Regions from separate parts of the Homo sapiens genome. Here region 2 is linked to region 1. Evidence: promoter capture Hi-C in human tissues and cell types (Jung and others, 2019). All regions are on one chromosome and are shown on one strand. The core of a region is centred on a gene start or on the middle of the fragment in contact, and the rest is flanking DNA. Distances in the headings are between cores, read along the strand shown.

Region 1 (2,769 bases), core at 160-2,659:
TTTGTAGATGAGGTGGCCCGTGGTGGTGGACTTTCCGGAGTCCACGTGGCCGATGACCACGATGTTGATGTGGGTCTTCTCCTTGCCCATTTTGCTGGGAGTGTGAGGGGCTGGCGGGACCCGGGGTGCTCTGGCTCAGGGCGAGGGGGGCTGCAGTGATTCTGTGGGGCCAGTGGTGGTGGGGAGACCGGTGATGGGGAGCCCCAGGGGGAGACACCAGCAGAGACTGTCCTGGCACAGGCTGGACAGGCATCCCTGCCCACAAACCAAGCCCCCATGTTTGGTGGGGAGGGAAGGGCCCCCACCCACAGCTGGGCCTGGCCAGGGCAAGCAGAGGCTGTGCACTGCCCCCACCCCACACTTGAGCCCAAACAGCCCCATCTGCTGTAAATAACTGGGCGTTGGAGCCCGCGGGCTGCTCCTTGGGAAGGGGTTAGCCACCATTTGGAGAGACCACGCAGCGCCAGGCTGGGTACGTCCGTGACCAGCAGAGCCGGGTGATGAGTCACCTGCCCAGCGCTCCAGGGCCCTGTCCTGCACGCGCACTCCCCTCCCCGGCGGCAGGGCCAGGGACACGGCGCCCCACCCCCACCCGCTGCCACCGGGGAGAGATGGCCACTGCTCCCCACTCCCCTCCTCAGGCAGGGACGGCGCCATCTTCCCCTCATCCCTGCCCGGCAGGCTGGGCCAGAGCCCCGACGGAGATGCGCTGCCCAGATTAGGAACCCAGAATAGCTCTAGGCACCCCCCTCCCGGACTCTCACAGGGACAGACAGCGGCCGGGAGGTGGGGGTCCCTGTTCCAGCCTGAGGAAGGAGGACCCGGCCCTGCCGAGCCCAGCAAGTGCCAGGTGGAGATGCCCTCGGCCCCGTGGGGGTATAGGGGGCACCCTCCCTCCCCCCCTCCCTGTGACTCAGGACCCTGGGTCACAGCCCTGTCCCATCACAGAGGTCAGTGGAGAAACCCACGCTGCTCCTCGCGGACAGGTGGCTGGGGGAGGGAAAGAGGACAGAAGCCACCCTGGGGTGGGAACACGGGTGGGGGTGGGGAGGCCAGGGCCCCCAGATCTCACCACCTCCCTCAGCGTCCTCTGGCCCAGCGCCCCGAAGCCCGACCCCCATCAGCCCCCGGCCCGCAGGGTCCCCGCGGCCCCAAGGTCACGGCTACGGGGCGATCGCCGCCCAGGACCCGGCCCCGCCGCCCCGCGCCGCCCCCCACCCCGGGCCCAGCCCGGCCGACGCGGGGACCCCCGGAAGCCGGACTCCGGGCGCGCGCGGGGGCGGGTGCGGGGCCCGGCCACCCTCTGCCCCCCAGGACCGGCCCCGGGGGTCCCTCTTCGGAAGACGGGGGCGGGGGCGGAGGCCCGGGGGCCGAGCGTCCTTACCCGGAGCCGAGGTCTCAGCCAGAGGGACTGGCGGCGCCGGCGCCGGCGGTTTTATCTCCGGGAGGGGGTCCACCTATTGACGGTGGCGGCGCAGTGCACCGCGCCCTGCAGCACGCCAATGCGGAACCGCGCGGGAGGGGGCGGGGCGCGGACGCGCGCGGGCGGGCGCCACGGGGACGCGAGGCGATGCGGGAGGCGCGGGCTGCAAAGACGGACGCGGGAGGCGGGGGAGAAACGCGCCGCGGGCGGGGGCGGGGCGGGGGGCAGGGCAGGGAGGCGGCGGGAGGGAGGGACCGGGACGGAGACGGCGCGGGGAGAGCGCGGCGGGCCCGGGAGACGGGGCGAGAGCCGGCTCAGGGCAGGAACACGCTTGAGCCGCGAAAAGCGGTCCCCGGGGACAGGGCAGACGCCGAGGACCGGAGCCGGCAGGCGGGGGAGGGGAGCAGGTGGGCTGCAGCCTGGGAGACGAGCCTGGGTCTACCGGCCCCTCCCCGGCCCTGCTCATGGGGGACGCCCCAGAACCAACGAAGCCCGGCTCTGAGGGGCTCTCCCTAATGAGGCCCGGGGGTGCAGGCCTCAGGGTGGAAATCTGCTGGTTTCCAGTCCCTGTCCTCACGTGCCTGCCCTCCTGGGCGCACCATGACAGGCCCCGAGGATCCAGCGCAGAACCACCCTCCCCCTGAGAGGCTGGTCTCCCACGGTGCAGGGAACGCCGGAAGCCCGCTCCCAGACCCACTGACATCTTCCAGGGACCCTCCCCTCCGGGTGCGCCGACCTCCGGCTGCTGCTGGGAAACAGCGCCAGCCAAGGGCGAGTCAGATCCAGACAGACCCAGGCCCCCCCGCCCAGCGCCCCACCCCGCTGCACCTCAGCGCCTTGTAGCTGATGCTCATATGGGGTCAGGATGCCAAGCCAAAGACCGGGCCACGCTCTGTAGGAAGTGGGGAGTCCCTGAGGTCCTGGCACACGCGGGTAATGACCAACGTGGGTTGTGAGGAAGGGGATGTGGCAGCCATGTGTTGTGTGAAGACCAAGGTTAGGGGCTTTCTCCAGACCCCAAGATCCTGTCGTCTCACCCAGGTATTCAGGTCTTCCCTCCCACGCTGCCCCCCCACCCCCACGCACTCGGATCTTCCTGCCAGCGGGGTCTCGGGAGGTGTGTGCTGAGTGGGGGCAGAGCCCTGGCACCTGTCCTCTCAGCCCTGAGTTCCCACTGGGTGTTGACATGGAGGCCCCGGGTCGGGCCCAGCAGCTGCGACTGGGCAAATCCATGGGGATCCCCAGCGACTGGACCCCTACCTGGCCTGCTGGCAGGTGTGAGGAGGAAGGAAAGGTGGGGGCCCAGGGTCGGGGCCAAACAGTTCTCCCCAGCCTGTGGAGAGGGC
Region 2 (2,769 bases), core at 101-2,600, 440 kb after region 1:
ACGGGGACGACCGTGTCCCGTGTCAGATGCGCCTGGCCCACGGCTGAGTCCCCAGCATCAGCCCTCAGCTCCACGGCTGAGCCCCGGGAGGCTGATTCAGTTATCTGGGCCTCTCCGGGGCCCGACGTGTGGGCGCCGCGCGTGCACCTCCTCTTCCTCAGTAAACCACGGCGGCGACTCCTCTCGGGGAGCCCGGGGGGGGCCTGCTCGGAAAGCAGGGTGGGCAGGACCTAAGGGAACCCACGCTTGCGGGCGTGGGCACGGCAGAGAGCACGGGATGCGGGTGGGCCTCCAGGTCTGGAGGGGTGAGCGAGGCGGGCCCTGAGCAGCAGTGGCTCCGGGCTCGTGGGCCCCGGGTGGCCCCGCCTCCAAGCGCAGGCCCCCACTTCCGCCCTGGTCTGCCTCCTGGCTTTGCTGCCTCCAGCGACTTGTCCTGACGGGAAGGACCCTCCCCCCCCCCAACTGTGGGGAGGACCCTGATGGTACAAATTTGTGGGTGGGGGCAAAACAGCCTGCCTCTTGTGAGACCCAGAGCACCAGGGGGCCCTGTCCCCTCCCTAGGTCCAGGCCAGGTGGCCACCAAGCTATGGGTTCTAGGGGCCCCATCTAGCAGAGCTAGGAGCTGCAGGGCCCAGTTCTACCCCTTCCTTCATCTGGCACAAGTGCAAGACTGGGAATGCTTGGTCCTGCAGGGGAGAAGGCAGGGCCCTCAGCTCCCTCCCTCCCTCCCCATGGGAGTCTCCACAAATGCATGCCTCAGCCAGGACACCTCTCCTGTGCTGTAACCAATCACACCTTCATTTTTCTAAAGCTTTATTTATTTTATAAAATGCATAGAATAAATTATACTAGTAACATTTTAAAAATTAACATCTTTGTATTCAGCAGTCCTGGGTCAGGAGGCAGGAGGAGGGTGGTGGGGACGGGATGGCTCACTGGGCAGCTAACCCGTGTAGGCCACTTCCTCCTCGTCACTGCCATCGGGGACCGCGTCTGTCCCAAAGTAGCGGTCGCCAAAGTTCCCTGGAAAAAGGGGGGGGGGGGTCCAGTGTGGTGGGGCCTCCCAGGGCCACCCACCCTGCCCTCATGTGCGGCTGAAGGGCCCGGGCAGCCTCACCAATGCCTGGGATGATGCGGAAAAGGTCATTGACCCGCTTGTCCACCGCCGTGGTGATGATTCTCACTCGCGGAAATGCATAGGCCACTGAGTGCACGCCCATCTCTGCCATGAGCAGCGACAGCAAAAAGATCTTGTCCTCAGGCACGTCGTGGTCCTACCGAGTGTATTGGGCAGGTAAATCCCACCTCTGCCTGAACCTGCCCCGCCTACCCAGGGCTCACTCACCAGGAGCACGCGCACTGCCATCATGGCCGCCGCGCCCGTGGACACGGTGCAGTCCATGAGGATCACGTGGTCATCGCTGATGTCCTTGGGCAGCCTCAGGTAGTGGAGCTGCGGGCAGCAGGGGTCAGGCTGCAGGTGGGGCTCCCTGCGTCCCCTTGCTGTGAGCTCCCTCTGCCCCCTACCCCCGGGCTCATCACCCCGGCTGCCCCCAGGCACCTCGGGCTCCCCGGTAAGCTGGTTGGTCTGGATGAGGATGGTGCCGATGCGCACGTCTTTGCACACAGCGCGCAGCGCGGGCTCCATGGTTTCACCGGCGCGCAGAATGGACACACCGGTGATCTGCGGGGAGGGGAGGCTAAGCGCCCACATCCCGCCCCAGCAGCCTGTCCCGCGCCCAGGTGTGCCCAGGCAGGTACCTGCTTCCCCGCATAGCACTTGCCCGCATAGTCCTGCCCCTGCGGGGTCTGTACGACGCAGTCCTGTGGGGTGCAGGGTGAGGACTCCGGTGAGCGCAGGGAGCTCGCACCGGCTCCAAGACCCACCCTCCACCTCGCGGGCTACGGGCTACGAACCTGAAAGGGCAGGAAGGAGAGCGCGTGCTCGATGAGCAGCCGCATCAGTCTCTTGGAGTAGAAGATGAACTCGTCGCGACTGGTCTCCTTGTCCCTGTGGGGCCAACAGTTGAGCGGGAGCACGCGCCCGGGGCCGCCCCGTCCCCAGGTGGGCCCTCACCTGATGATGGTGTGCATGCCCCGTACCTGCGGCGTGCTCTTCAGGACGCTCAGCGTCCGGGGCAGCGGGTGGCACTGGTGTGCCGAGGCCAGCGCAGCCCTGGGGACAAACCGATGGGGAACACTCAAGAAGGGGGTCTTTTCCCAGAGCCCTCCCTCCCCACAGGACGGCTGTGCGTCACTGTGAGGGGAACACACGGGCCAGGCACAGCACGAGGTGCAGAGCGGGCCTGACTTCTGCCTGGGGCTGAGCTGGGGGGAGACGTCGCCCTACCTGAGCTGTCAGGCAAAGGCGAAAGATGGCGGCGAACAACGGGGCAAGCTCACCATCAGGCAGAAAGCTAGCGGGGTAGGCTGTGAGGGCCCCTCCCAGTGCGGGACCCCTCCTGCGCTAAGAGGAAGCAGAAGTGGGCCGGGCACAGGGCGGGCTCACACGTGCTGATAGGTGTCATACCCCAGAATGGGTAGCTTGTCCCCAGCCTCTCCCCGGGGGAACTAAAGCTTTGTGGGGTCAGGCCCCGCCCTGGCTCCTCCCCGAGGTGGTGCGCGGCCCCTCAAGAGAGGGGGGTGGGGGGCAAAGCTGGCTCAGTGTCTCTTGGCTGTCCCGTCCCGCCCCGCTGCCCAAGCCTGGGGATGGCCGGGGCAGCAGCAGGTCTAGGAGCGGGCAGGAAAAGGGCGGGGTGGAGGCAAGAA

Evidence for each region. Contacts are between HindIII fragments. The study calls those that stand out against the background at their distance.
Region 2: a contact is called between a fragment that was not itself captured here and the fragment with the promoter of EEF1A2 in region 1, in 2 of the 25 tissues and cell types used here (aorta and lymphoblastoid cells).

What each region holds. Positions count from the first base shown.
Region 1 is chr20:63,497,674-63,500,442 of GRCh38, forward strand. It overlaps EEF1A2 (eukaryotic translation elongation factor 1 alpha 2), which reads right to left and starts at 1,410. Exons shown (of 8, transcript NM_001958.5): 1 at 1,385-1,410; 2 at 1-161. The coding sequence starts at 90. It overlaps LOC124904955 (a long non-coding RNA gene), which reads left to right and starts at 609. Exons shown (of 2, transcript XR_007067719.1): 1 at 609-950. RefSeq lists enhancers at 419-1,214, 1,475-2,044. The HindIII fragment of the contact is 29,943 bases long and covers 1-2,769 here.
Region 2 is chr20:63,939,033-63,941,801 of GRCh38, forward strand. UCKL1 (uridine-cytidine kinase 1 like 1) reads right to left here. Exons shown (of 15, transcript NM_017859.4): 9 at 2,078-2,176; 10 at 1,918-2,011; 11 at 1,762-1,824; 12 at 1,562-1,684; 13 at 1,346-1,453; 14 at 1,118-1,274; 15 at 797-1,023. The coding sequence ends at 944. It overlaps MIR1914 (microRNA 1914), which reads right to left and starts at 2,512; the gene lies at 2,433-2,512. The HindIII fragment of the contact is 6,155 bases long and covers 1-2,769 here.